Regions from separate parts of the Homo sapiens genome. Here all the other regions are linked to region 2. Evidence: promoter capture Hi-C in 16 types of primary human blood cells and fetal thymus (Javierre and others, 2016). All regions are on one chromosome and are shown on one strand. The core of a region is centred on a gene start or on the middle of the fragment in contact, and the rest is flanking DNA. Distances in the headings are between cores, read along the strand shown. Region 1 overlaps MIPEP (mitochondrial intermediate peptidase). Region 2 holds the start of MICU2 (mitochondrial calcium uptake 2). Region 3 overlaps SPATA13 (spermatogenesis associated 13).

Evidence for each region. The method cuts DNA at HindIII sites, captures the fragments that hold promoters and counts their contacts. A CHiCAGO score of 5 or more calls a contact.
Region 1: a fragment that was not itself captured here is called in contact with the fragment with the promoter of MICU2 in region 2 in 1 of 17 cell types (naive CD8 T cells); the score reaches 6.7 in naive CD8 T cells.
Region 3: a fragment that was not itself captured here is called in contact with the fragment with the promoter of MICU2 in region 2 in 2 of 17 cell types (fetal thymus and naive B cells); the score reaches 6.2 in fetal thymus.

The regions. Positions count from the first base shown.
Region 1 is chr13:23,883,389-23,888,379 of GRCh38, reverse strand. MIPEP (mitochondrial intermediate peptidase) reads left to right here. Exons shown (of 19, transcript NM_005932.4): 2 at 1,874-2,047. Among named protein-coding and RNA genes, the nearest start is that of PCOTH, 3.0 kb to the left of the region's middle. The HindIII fragment of the contact is 3,971 bases long and covers 1-3,729 here.
Region 2 is chr13:21,602,163-21,606,435 of GRCh38, reverse strand. MICU2 (mitochondrial calcium uptake 2) reads left to right here and starts at 2,266. Exons shown (of 12, transcript NM_152726.3): 1 at 2,266-2,497. The coding sequence starts at 2,288. RefSeq lists enhancers at 2,083-2,152, 1,934-2,552, 2,553-3,172 and a silencer at 2,323-2,532. The HindIII fragment of the contact is 1,411 bases long and covers 1,526-2,936 here.
Region 3 is chr13:24,265,618-24,270,149 of GRCh38, reverse strand. All of the region lies in intron 4 of SPATA13 (spermatogenesis associated 13), which reads right to left. Among named protein-coding and RNA genes, the nearest start is that of SPATA13-AS1, 13 kb to the right of the region's middle. RefSeq lists an enhancer at 2,648-2,797. The HindIII fragment of the contact is 8,225 bases long and covers 1-4,532 here.

The DNA of each region.
Region 1 (4,991 bases), core at 495-2,994, 2.3 Mb before region 2:
ATACTGTATTGCCTTATAAAGACAAGTCTAGGGTATTGTTGCACTGAGCTAAAGTGTGTGATTCTTGTTTTATCTCCATTATCAGTTTTGTCTATTTAAAAATTATTTTGTGTGAAATTTGCTACACCACCTTCCTTAAGGGTATGTAGTGTTGGTATTAACATAGTTGGTGTGAAGAGACCTACTTGTAGGCGCTGAGCAGAAAGACGTGAGGGGAAGCCTGATTTTGGGTGGATGAGATATAACTAATTTTAGCTTTTATTTTTCCCTTTTTGTATCATGATATTCGGCACTGATAGCAGATTTTCAAATTTTAGAATTGATTTTTGCCTTGAAAAAAAAAAAGCCTTATTCAGTTTTTTAGCATTATGGTCACTGGTAATCCGATAGTTAGAATTCCCGAGAGCAATATGGGCAGGTTGTACTGGGAAGTGGAAGTAGTCTGTGCTTGAATCAAATTAAATCAGTATAAAGATGACATTTGTTTTTGGTCCTGATTTTCCTTTGTCTCCCACTGACTTTCTTTTATTTTATTTTTTATCTTGTAATATATTTTGAAGAGAGATTACTAGCTTAACTTCATCCATCCCTTCTTGTAGAAACAGTAGGGCTTGTCAGGCCTGAAGGTTTACCTGTTCGTATTTCTGAAAATCTATGCGTTAAGCACCTACAAAGTGAATTAACAAAGCCTAGCATCTGCTCCGGTCACTTGTTTCTTTCATTGAGTTCCCCCATGTGTTAGACATTCTATTGGATAGCTGGTTAAAGAAATGAAGGGCAGGGCTCTTGGGTCTGGAAGCTCACCTTTTCAGGAGAGAAGACTTTCAAACAGATAAATTGTAATAGAGAAGTATGGAAAAGTGTGGGCTTTACAGATGTACAGAGCGGGTTCGAGTTCTGTCTTTCCCAATATTAATTTGTGACCTCAAACAAGTTTTTTCTAACGTCTTAAAGCATGTGGCCTGATCTGTAAAAGAATGATACTCTGTTCTGTAGGATTGTGTGATTTAAATGAGAACCTATGTAAAGTAGCAGGCACACTTCATGGTATGCAGTAGGTGCATATTAAATGCTTTTTCCCCCTGCCTTCCTGAGTGTGCTAACAAGTGTGATTGAATAGGTAACAAGAGAATGGTCATTACCATTAGATCAGTGATTTTTGTTTTTATCAAGATATTGAAATGTCTTTGTAACGTATAAAATTTGCTCCCAGTTTCAGCCTATGATTTTAATATGTTCATTACATTTTTCTAAAATATCTATTGCTTCATAGTCAACTCATCCTCCCTATTTGATAGTTATAGAATAATTGGTACTATGTACTGAGATCTCACCTTGTCAGCTGCTGCTGTTAGTACTTTACATATACTTATTACCTGTATCCATGCTGTAAGGTATGTATCGTCATTCCCATTGTACATGATGAAAAAAATATTTCTCCTAGGAGGAGAAATAACATGACCAGGGTTATAAGCTAATAATAATTATGGCTAACATCTATAAATGCTCTGTGCCAAACACTGCTTTATGTATATATATATATATATTTACATATATGATCTCATTTAATCTTTGCGGCCACTCTTAGGTTCTGTAGAAGTGACAGCTGGATTTTGAACCCATACCATTGTTGTTGTTGTTTTTTCCGGAAAATAATTAAAAATTGAAGAAAAATTATGTTCTGAAAACATTTTTAGTGTAATTTATGTGGAGTGATATGGGGAGTATGATAGTGGTATCTGTGATCACAGGTATAACATGATACACCAATGAAAGTCAAGATCTCCTTTGTGATAAAAGTAATTTTAGTAAATATAAAAAAAGCACAATTTTGAATTTTGGTTATAAATCAGACGTATTCTTTGGTTCTAAGGGTCTTTTTGGAGTTCCTGAGCTGAGTGCCCCAGAAGGATTTCATATTGCACAAGAAAAAGCCTTGAGAAAGACAGAATTGCTTGTGGACCGTGCATGTTCCACCCCACCTGGGCCCCAGACCGTGCTGATCTTCGATGAGCTCTCGGATTCCTTATGCAGAGTGGCCGACTTGGTAAGGTGCTTTACCTCAGACTTGAAGCTACCTCTCTTTCAACTTGTTAAAATTTAAGTGAAATTTATCCTTTGTTGTTTACTATTAATATTAGATTATAAAGTTAAAAATGTCTGAAACTGAGATCCATTGGGTATAATTTTTTATGATGAAATATGTCATTAGGAATGGGAAAATATTATAGGAAAAGGTGATATTTAGAACTTGTACTTTAATACGTATGTTTAATAAAATATACATGTAATATATAATGAATGAATACTAATATAGCAAATATTTGCTATATTTGGGTAATATATATTTACATATATATTCATTTGACAGAGATTCTTCATTTATGAAAGTGTCTCCCAAAATTCTAAGAACACTTTATGTGTACATTTACAACAAAATTCCCCTTTTTCTTTTTTTTTTTTTTTTAATAGAGACAGGGTCTCCCTGTGTTGCCCGGGCTGATCTTGAACTCCTAGCCCCAAGTGAACCTCCTGCCTCGGCCTCCCAAAGTGCTGGGATTATAAGTGTGAGCCACTTCTTTTTCATAAGAGGTGTGAAAACCAGTTTTAATAAACCTTTTCAGGAATGCTTTTTTTTTTTTAATTAAAAACCAAGTTTTGACATCAAAATGATTGTAAAGACTTTTTTTTTTTAACATTTTAAATTTGAAATAGAAGTGTATACCTAGATCTCTTCAGCAACTAGGAAATCCATTGCTGAGATAGCAAAATTTTCTTTTTTTTTTATTTTTAATTTTTGTGGGTACATGTATATATTCATGAGGTACATGAGATGTTTTGATAGAGGCATGCAATGCATAGTAATTACATCAGGGAAAATGGGGTATCCATCCCCTCAAGCATTTATCCTTTCTGTTACAAACAATCCAATTATACTCTTCTGGTTATTTTAAAATCTACAATTAAATTATTATTGACTGTAGTCACCCTGTTGTGCTATCGAATAGTAGGTCTTACTCAATCTTCCTGTTTTTTTGTAGCCATTAACCATCCCCACCTCCCCCATGCCACCCTGCTACCCTACCTAGCCTCTGGTAACCATCCTTCTACTCTTTATTTCCATGATTCAGTTGTATCTATTTTTAGGTCCCACAAGTGAGTGAGAACATGTGATGTTTGTCTTTCTGTGCCTGACTTATTTCACTAAACATAATGACCATCCATGTTGTTGAAAATGACATAATCTCATTCTTTTTTATGGCTGAATAGCATTCCATTGTGTGTAAGTACCATACTTTCTTTATCCATTCATCTGTTCATGGACAGTTGGGTTGCTTTCTCATCTTGGATGTTGTGAACAGAGCTGCAGCAAACATGGAAGTGCAGATATCTCTTCGATATACTCATTTCCAGGAAGCAGGGTTTCCTATCAGCTTGAAGGAGCTGACTCTTGGTTACTCTTGTCAAGGAAAGCAGCACACACAATTTAAATAGTGATCATTTATGATCCTGTCTACATGGTATAGAACTGCATAGGTTTTTCCCTCACATTCAGTCAATGTTGAGCACGTACTGTGTGCCAGACACTGTCTAGGCATGAGGGATACATGCAGGAATGAAACAGACACAATCTGTTACTTCATGGAGTTTATATTCTGGCATTAACTTGTTTTTGGAAATTTAACTAGACTGTAGGCCCTTTCTACAGCCTAGTTAGCTGAAGAAGCTTTCCCTGGATGAGCTGAGGTAACCTTCTCAGCATATCTCCATTTTCACAAGAGGGAAGAAAGGCACTGGGTGATGAAGGGATGTGCCCGCTGTCAGCTGGCCAGCGTGTGGTGCAGCTGGGCTGCCAGCCCAGGCAGGGTATCTGTCGAGCTCTTCTTCTTTCTCCTGTTCCAACCATTTCAGGGCTGGCTGGCTGCTCAGGTCTCATGAATCCTTACCTGGAAAGGTTGCAAAGTTTGTTAGCCTCTCCATCTTTAAAAAAAATGTATACTTGTTTTTAAAATTATTATTCTGTAAAATTGACTTCTTTTGGAGGATGGTACAGTTCTATGAATTTTAACTCGTATAAATTTGTGCAGCCCTCACCACAATCAGGATACAAAGCTGTTCCATCCACCCCCAAAAATCTCCCTGTAGTCACACCCCCCCCTCCCCACTAACCTCTGGCAACCACTAATCTGTTCTCTCTCCCTATAGTTTTGCCTTTTCTAGAATGTCACATAGGTGGAATCCTGTATACCTTTGACTGACTTCTTTCACCCAGCATAACTCATCCCCATCTTTATTTTTTTTCCTTTTTTGGAAAATTTCCTTCCACCCATACAACTGATTTGAGCATTAACACCTTTCAGATGATTATATGTTCACCACAAGCCTCCCGCTCTTAAGAAAACTGATAAAGTATCTTACTGTAAAGGGTTTTTCCCTGGAGTGAAGTTGCAGGCTCTGAGTAGTTCTGTTGTACTGGGTTTTTGTTCTGTGCCTCCAGTATGTGCATAGGAAATGTGTCTTTGAATGATGGGGAAGCTGTGGAAACGCACTGCCAAAAGGAGGTTTCATACCCTGTTCACCTAATTGTGTCACAGAAATCAGAAAAGGAAAATCTGTGTCAGTGAATTTCACTGTATCGTCAACCCTCCAGATTGGGGGATCTGTGGAGTCAACCAACCTTGGATCAAAAATATTTGGAAAAAAAATTTGCATTCATACTGAACATGTACAGACTTTCTTTTCTTGTCACTGTTCCATAAAACAATACAGTGTATCAGCTATTTACATATTGTTTACATTCATTAGGTATTACAAGTAATCTAGATATGATTTGATGTATGGGGTGTGCTGTGTGTCGGTTATATGCAAGTACTACACCATTTTATATCAGAGACTTGAGCATCTGTGGATTCGGGTATCTGTGGGAGGATCAAACCATTGTCCATTGATACTGAGGGGTGACTTGGCGTGGCTGTCACAAATCCCAGAAT
Region 2 (4,273 bases), core at 1,017-3,516:
TGCTTAGACAAATGTCAGCAGCTGCCAAGGAAGATTTCATACTTAGAATGGTTATTCGACTAGAGATTGGTTCTATTATAAGAATTTGTTTCCTCTGCATAAGAAAAGTTTGAATACATTAAATTATAAGTGAGAGTTCTAGATGCCTGGGCACATAATGAAAATTTAAAAAATAACTAATTACACTGTTTTCCAAGTGGGTTCAAAGATTTTTGGCAAAATAAAAAGAAGCTTTTGTTTTGAAAATAAAGTACCCCAAAGGAATAATATACTTCTGTATTTTGGATGGCCAAAGCATAGAAATATGAACCCCTGAGTTTCATTTGTGCCATTTATTTATTCACTTATTTACTCACTCATTGAATGTCTATTACGTGCTGGGCATTGTGCTAGGTGCTAGAGAAACAGGGAAAAGGAAGACATCTCACCCACAAGGATGTCAAATTGTGGGAGAAAGACAATGTTCTTAAATATGCTACATGTTTTAATGGGAATCTAAACTTATCTTGGGCTTAAGGCAATACTGAGTAATAGATGCCAGGTTTCATTAAATACCTAGAGGAACTGTGTGAGGCAGTTAGAAGTATACACGTAAAGACTGTGGTTTCTGGAAATCAAGAATAAACTACAAGGTAAGACATCCAGGGTGTCCAAAATATCCTGGAAGTCCTATTATCACCAGGAAACAAGCTAGATGTCAATAGTCCAGAAAAGCAGGACATGTGCCAAAGCTACCAGAGTTAGCAGAGGTGAAAAACAGTCCAGAGGTTGACAAAGTCAGGCTAGATACAAAAAAGCAGGAAAATCTCAGGTTAAGATGGGCTAGTGATCTGGAATCATGGACATTCAGTCAAGCTCATTTGTGTTCACAGGGCAGAAGTAAACCAAACCTTGACCACAGTAAACGCACATCTGTCATGAGCCTACCATGTGCCAGGCATTTGGCTAGTCACTTTATATAAAATATCTCATTTAGCTTCCCCACCCCAAACTGTAAGAGGGTTGTTCACAGATGAAAAAATTGAGACTCAAAGAGATTAAATACCTTACCCCAAATAGCAGTGATCATCTACCAAATCGTGAGTTATTTACAAATGAGAAAATGGAGACTCAGAGAGATTAAATAATTTGCCCCAAACCACAGTGATCATCCTGGTAGAGCTAAGATTCAAACCTTGAGGTCTGGCTCACAAGTCGGTGAAGTGAGGCTCATCTCTCTACTTCCTACCTGGGAAGGCACACTGAAAAGTAAGTCCAGAAGCTGACGGAAAAGTGAGGAACCTCTGACTGCAGATTAATTTAGACAAGCGGGCTAAGAGAAAGGGAGCAAGGATTAAGGGCAGATAATAACAAAGGGATCCACGGAACTTCCACTGAATGATCAAATTAGATTTCGTGTGACAGGTTTTTGTTTTTGTTTCTTGAAGTTTTGTTTTGTGCAAAACTTCAAGACAGCAGTGATTATGTGATTAGGAGTCTTGGCCCCTTTGATGTTGGCTCCGTTACTGCATGCCCAACTAAAGCTTCTAATAGCTGGGGACATTTCAGAGGCTGAACAAAGAGTTTATTAAAAAGAGTTACTCAGGAAAAGTGAAGACCAAAGAATGGAGGATTGGAGGCTGTTAAATAAAACCAAGTAGTCTGCCTCAGCTACATCACTTATCACCAATGCAACAGCCAGGACTGGAGGTATCGTTCTAAATCTGCACTGGGGAAAACCTCTGGGTCCCTGATGATAGAGACATGGGGCTGGTGTGCTGCTGTCTCTGACTTTTAGTTCTAGGTAGGATAAGAGCTACTATCAAACCTTTTGTTGAAACTGAATTTAAATTCATTATAAGCAAATAGTGAGGGACTGAAATAAACAGAATGCCTTGTCTGAGAGTTGTTTTAGCAGAAATGAAAGAACAGTCAAGACTATAAGCATAGGAAGACATGAACAACACAGATGCAGAAGAGACTATTTCAAAAAACGTTTCACAGTTTTACAAGGTGAAAAAATGAAAAGGAGAAACCTGCCCACACAACCGAGGGCACTATCTTGTTTTGGACTAGGAAGTCATATTATACTGTCTTGATACTCTTCCTGTCATCCCATCCCCACAGCCTTAGAAGGCAGCCCCGGAACCGAAGGCCACCTCTTGCGGCTGCGAGCGTCGCCTCAGCAACCGCACCCACGGCGCAGGCCCGGTAGGCGGGGCGGAAGCCTGTCGGATGTCGCGAGAGTTCCCAAGCGGTAGGCGGCGGCGCCGGGAGAGAAGCGCCGCCTAGCTGCGCTTCCGCAAAGATGGCGGCGGCTGCGGGTAGCTGCGCGCGGGTGGCGGCCTGGGGCGGAAAACTGCGACGGGGGCTCGCTGTCAGCCGACAGGCTGTGCGGAGTCCCGGCCCCTTGGCAGCGGCAGTGGCCGGCGCGGCCCTGGCAGGAGCAGGAGCGGCCTGGCACCACAGCCGCGTCAGTGTTGCGGCGCGGGATGGCAGTTTTACAGTCTCCGCACAGGTACAGGACTAACTCCTTCTGCTAGCCCCAGTCAAGCTCCTCCCTCCCCTGACGCCCTTAGGCGGGGAGTGGTTTGGCTCTGGGCGGCTCTCCCGGAGCCGTGGGTGGAGGTGCCGCTGCGGATCGGAGCGCCCTGCGACTGGTGGGACTCGCTCCTTCCTGGACCGGCCCCCGGCCTGAGTCCCCGAGGGCCTTCGAGGCTGGTGACCGGAGATTCTGCCTCCCTTGGGAGAACCCCGCGGACGCTGAACACCACGGCCCACAAAACTGGCCGCACTAATTTAGTGGTGATGAGTGTGGGCGTGTCTTAATTCGAGGCTCCTAATTCAGAATCTCACTGCGCCTCGCCTCTTGCTACCTCTCTGGTCAGTGAAGTGGCATTCACATCCGCAGGTGGTTTGCGTCCAGTTACCCCTGTGGGATATACCTTTGTTAAGCTTTGCAACTAAGTTTTACGATCTTTTCTTTGTATAGCATGATGAAGTTCTGTCGATTGCTTTTTTAAGTCACGAATGTGTCAGCCACAAAAATTAACCAGTTGATTTCCAGATTTTATTATCAACTTTAAGGAACATTATTGCATGATTATAAACCTTAATATCTTAGTGGACCATAAGTTCTAAGCAAAAATTGCTCCTAAAACCTCCATCTATTAAAGACAAGAGTCCGCCGGGCGCGGTGGCACACGCCTTTAATCCCAGGGCTTTGGGAGGCCGAGGCGGGTGGATCTCCTGAGGTCAGGAGTTCGAGACCAGCCTGGCCAACATGGTGAAGCCGCTCCCCACCCCAGCCCCGCCCCCCCGGTCTCTACTAAAAAATATAAACAATTAGCTGGGTGTGGTGGCGGGAGGCTGAAGTAGGAGAACCGCTTGAATCCGGGAGGCGGAGGTTGCAGTGAGCCAAGATCGAGCCATTGCACTCCAGCCTGAGCTACAAGAGCGAAACTCCGTCTCAAAAAAAAAAAAAAAAGATTCAAGTTCCCTATTTCAGGATAAATGATGTTGTAACGCATTTGAAAATTTGAATGAGTAGTGCTTTAAAATTTTTGTAGACTTAGTAAGTTTTTACATATGAGCTTTTTTGAAAATTGAAAGTAGTAGTTTATTATTTTCTTTTTTAGATTTACATTATGCCTTTCTAGCGAAAAACTCAAGGAACATTCAGATACAACAAAAAAGAGAGGAAAGAAGGCCTTGTGAGTTAAAATTAAGTATTGGCAACTGATATTCCTTATTTGTATTAACATACATTATAATTATATTGTAAACATATATAATGGAAAGATCTATTATCTAGTGTTTTTATAGCATTTTTGTGAATCTTGTGCCAAGGAGTTCAGTGTATTCATCATTAGTTTCTCTCCCCTAGATTCATCCTGGTTTTTTTGTTTGTTTTTTGTTTTTGTTTTTGTTTTTTTTGAGAGGAGTCTCGCTCTGTCGCCCAGGCCGGACTGCAGTGGCGCTATCTCGGCTTACTGCAAGCTCCGCCTCCCGGGTTCACGCCATTCTCCTGCCTCAGCCTCCCGAGTAGCTGGGACTACAGGCGCCCGCCATCGCGCCCGGCTAATTTTTTGTGTTTTTAGTAGAGACGGGGTTTCACCGTATTAGCCAGGATGGTCTCGATCTCCTGACCTCGTGATCCGCCCGCCTTGGCCTCCCTAAGTGCTGGAATTACAGGCGTGAGCCACTGCGCCCGGCCGATTCATCCTGTTTTTAAGACCCTTAGGTTAATCTTCTCCGGAGTATCACTTTAACCACACAGTGTACCCTTCTTCAG
Region 3 (4,532 bases), core at 531-3,030, 2.7 Mb before region 2:
AACAAAGAGTGAGCTTCCTTCCATTTCCCCATAAGCAGAAGACACGGCCTTTTTAACTTTATGAACAATGAGGTAATATATACGCAAAGTAGTGACCTCACAGTCATCTCTTAGTAAATGTGGGTTTAAGCTGGGCCCGCTGGCTCATGCCTGTAATCCCAACTACTCAGGAGGATGACGCAGGAGGATTGCTTAAAACCAGGAATTCATGACCAGTCTGGGCAACATAGCAAGACCCTATCTCTAAAAAAAAAAAATTAGGTCTGGGCAAGGTAGCTCACACCTGTAATCCCAACACTTTGGGAGGCCAAGGTGGGAGGATCAATTGAGCCCAGGAGTTTGAGACAAGCCTGGGCAACATAGCAAGGTCCTGTCTCTACTAAAAAAAAAAAAAAAAAAAAAAAAAAATTTATATTAGCCATGCATAGTGGCATGTGCCTGTGGTCCCAGCTACTCAGGAGGCTGAGGTGGGAGGATTGCTTGAGCCCAGAAGGTGGAGGCTGCAGTAAGCTATGATCGTACCACTGTACTCCAGCCTCGGTGACAGAATAAGATCCTGTCTCTAAAAATAAAAATAAAAAATTAGCTGGGCAGAGTGGCACATGCCTGTCATCCTAGTTACTCAGGAGTCTGAGATGGGAGGATCACTTGAGCCCAGGAGTTCGAGGTTGCAGTAAACTATAATCACACCACTGCACTCCAGTGTTGTGAGTTACAGAGCTAGATCCTGTCTCTAAAATAGATACATACATACATACACACATACATACATACACACATACATACATACATGTTAAACAAGTGATAGTGCCAATTAGTAAAATGCATGCTTTATAGTGATGAGCTTTGGAGTCAGACTGCCTGTGTTCAAAAGCTGCTTTCCCATAACAAAATTAGGGAAAGTTTCCAAGTCTCTAGGCAGCTCTCTTTCCACATCTGCGGAGTGGGGATAACTGCAGCACCAATCAATAATCCTCACAGAATTACTCGAGAACATATTGCAGTGTTTAGAGAAGCACTGGCTCTTCATTGGGGGTTAATAAATGTTAGCCGTCACGCTGCTGCTGTCGCTCCAAAAAACCTGAGGTCCCTTAATAACATGCTAGTTCCCAGAGAAATCACAGCATGAACTCAGAATGGAAAGCTGTATGATTAGTAATAACACACATGTTGACTATATACTATATCGTAGGCTTCTCTTATCTTCAAATATCTGTGGCTATTTCTATTGATCTGGAGCATCCCACCCTCAAATCCAGGTAAGGACAGTTTTCTGGGAAACTCATAGCCTTAGTAACCCGCACTACAAGTGAAAAACACACACGATCACACAAACTCTTATGACCAGTTCAGCTGAAAATCTTTCTCTTACAGAAATTTTATTTCATTTTGAGATGGAGTCTTGCTCTGTCACTCAGGCTGGAGTGCAGTGGCACGATCTTGGCTCACTGCAACCTCCACCTCCTGGGTTCAAGTGATTCTCCTGCCTCAGCCTCCCGAGTAGCTGGGATTACAGGCGCACACCACCATGCCCGGCTAATTTTTGTATTTGTAGTAGAGATGAGGTTTCACCATGTTGGTCAGGCTGGTCTCAAACTCCTGACCTCAGGTGGTCTGCCCACCTCGGCCTCCCAAAGTGCTGGGACTACAGGCATGAGCCACTGCGCCCAGCCTCTTACAGGAATTTAAAAAGATGATTTAAAAGAGGCAAATACTTAAGATGTTTAATAGACAATTCATTCAATACAGGCATATTCTCAATAAAGGTGGTAGTTTATTAAATTATAGGCTCAAAAGACTCCTCGATACTGTTTTTCACAGCAGACTACTCTCTCTCTCGTGTAAAGTCTCCTAAGTATATCTCATGGAATACTAGTGGCATAATACGCTCCAAGAAAAGAGTTTGAAAACCACTGTATATTGTATCTACCTTTTGGATATCCTACAGGATTCATCAGTAATCACAGGCTCTAAAAAGTTCCCACTGACAGCTGTGCCATCTTCTTTAACATAGAATTTAACAATCGTATTTGGCTATGACGCTCTTTTTTTATGACAACACATATTACTACACCAAAAGAAAGTATCCTCTGGCCTTGCTACTCACAGTAGGGCCCATGGACCAGCAGTATCAGCATGACTGGGAGCTGGTGAGAAATTCAGATTCCTGGGCCCTGCCCCAGGTCTGCAGAATCAGAATCAACATTTTAACAACATCCCAGGTTATTCAAATGCACATTCAGGTTTCAGAAGTGTTGTTCTAGACAACTCAAGAAACTATACAACATACTTGGAGAAGCACTGCCATGAGGCAAAATCTTCAATATCAGTATCTTTTCTAACTAGTGAAGACCATGGAATGAATGGGTGGGCTTGAGTTTAGTCAGAATGAAAAGGTAAAATGCATAATACTCAGACACAAAGCAGCAGAAAGTAGGAATTAATTCTCAAGGTTATCCATTCCAACAAAGCCTAAATTCCAGAAGGAGGCAAATAAAATCCAGTGTTTTCATTTTCTACAAAAATTTTTTTTTTGGTTAAAATCATTAGTTTTCAAAAAGCAAAAGCTCTCTTGGCCTCATTTTCTTAGAACTTGGTAGGCTGTTTGCTCACTTTCACTTTTCATCGGCATCCGGTACAAGAGGATAGTTTCTGTTTCCCAAGCACTTTTTCTCAATCCAGAGACGGGGTCAGGGCACTAGACTAACATCCTTGGGATTACAGGATCTTAAGCCAGAGGCATTCACTAGAGATTATTGTGTAGGCAAAACAAAATAAAAAGAAGGAAAACAAGTAAATAAACAAAGACTGCCTTGAAATCAGGCATCTTCTCAAAGGATGTGACCCAACAACCCCTTTATGTCCCCACCAGCTTGGATATGGCCCCATTACCAAGCACTACAGGACAGGTGCTAGATGGAAGAGTCCCAGGGAAGAGAGTCACACTATTCTGTGGCAAAGGACTACCATCAACTTTAGGAAATGGGCTCAAGGATGGGCACATCTGCCAGCCACCCTTCTAAGATAGTTTTGGAAGAAGCCACTACTAATGTAGAAAGGGGCATGATAGAACAAGGAGATAGGACTTTCAGCTTAATTTTTTTTTTTAGTGATCAGAGCCTACATTTACCAGATCAGTAAGAATCCTACAACGAAAACCTAAACCATAGTTCAAAGAAGTCTTAAAATCCTGGCTGGGCATTGGTGGCTCACACCTATAATCCCAGCACTTTGGGAGGCTGAGGAGGAAGGATCACTTGAGACTGAGAGGTTGAGGCTGCGGAGAGCTGAGATTGTACCACTGCACACCAGCCTGGGTGACAGAGGGAAGCCCTGACTTGGAAAAAAAAAAAGAAAAAAGAAAAATCCAACCCCCAAATTAATCTCTTCTCTTTGGATAAGATACCACTACCTCACTGGAACTGGGAAATGACCATCATTGATTATTGGCAACACTGTAAAAGGATTAAGCACAGGGATCAGATCCGTAGGTAGGAGTGGAGATATCCAACTTACATATTAATATTAAATGTTGAGAAATCAGAGAGGACAAAATAAACACTGAAGATTGTGTGTGGTGGCTCATGCCTTGATCCCAGCACTTTGGGAGGCCAAGGTGGGAGGATCACTTGAGGCTAGGAGTTTGAGACCAGCCAGAGCAACATAGGCAGACCCCATCTCTACAAAAAATAAAAAAATTAGCCCAGCTTGGTGACACATGCCTTGAGTCCCAGTTGCTCAGGAGGCTAAGGTGAGAGAATCCCTTGAGCCCAGGAGATCGAGGCTGCAGTGAGCTATGATTGGGCCAGTGCCCTCCAGCCTGGGTGACAGAGCAAGACATTATCTCTATAAAAATTAAAATTAATTTTTAAAAATAGATGTTGAAAACACATAGGATGTTATGATCAATTTTATTCTATAGATACAGAAAGTTATTTTTGGTAAGCTGGTCCCAAAACCCATATATATTTACATACCTATGGGAAAGAAATGTCATAAAATTCTTGGAGAGGCAAGTTAATAGCAGTATCTCAAACTCACAACAGTAGTCAGCACTTGACCTCTCTAGGAGGATTTCTGGAGACTGAGTAGGTTCATTAAGGTTCTTGAGATTGAGTGGCCATTAAGGTTCCTTTGAGCTCCACATTTCTGATATCTTCTTATTTTAAGTATGACATGGTAGATATTTTCTTCTATGATCACCTCCGAATTAAGTGCAGAGAGATGACCAGCACCAAAGTTTCCCACCTGCTGCAGCTTCCCTGTTGTTTCTGCAAAGCAGCTGCCTCCCTTCATGGTACAGACATATCCAGAACCCAGGAACATCCTTGGAACTTTATGTCCCCACTAACTTTGATATGGCCCCATTACCAAGAACTACAGGACAGGTGCTAGGCAGAGAGGCAGGCCCCAGGGGAGAGTCATGCTGTCCCCTGGGAAAGCATGGCCATCAGCTTTAGGACATGGGCGGAAGGATGGGCACATCAGCCAAGAACCAAGGCTGCCACGGGCTGGAATGACCCATAATCCCA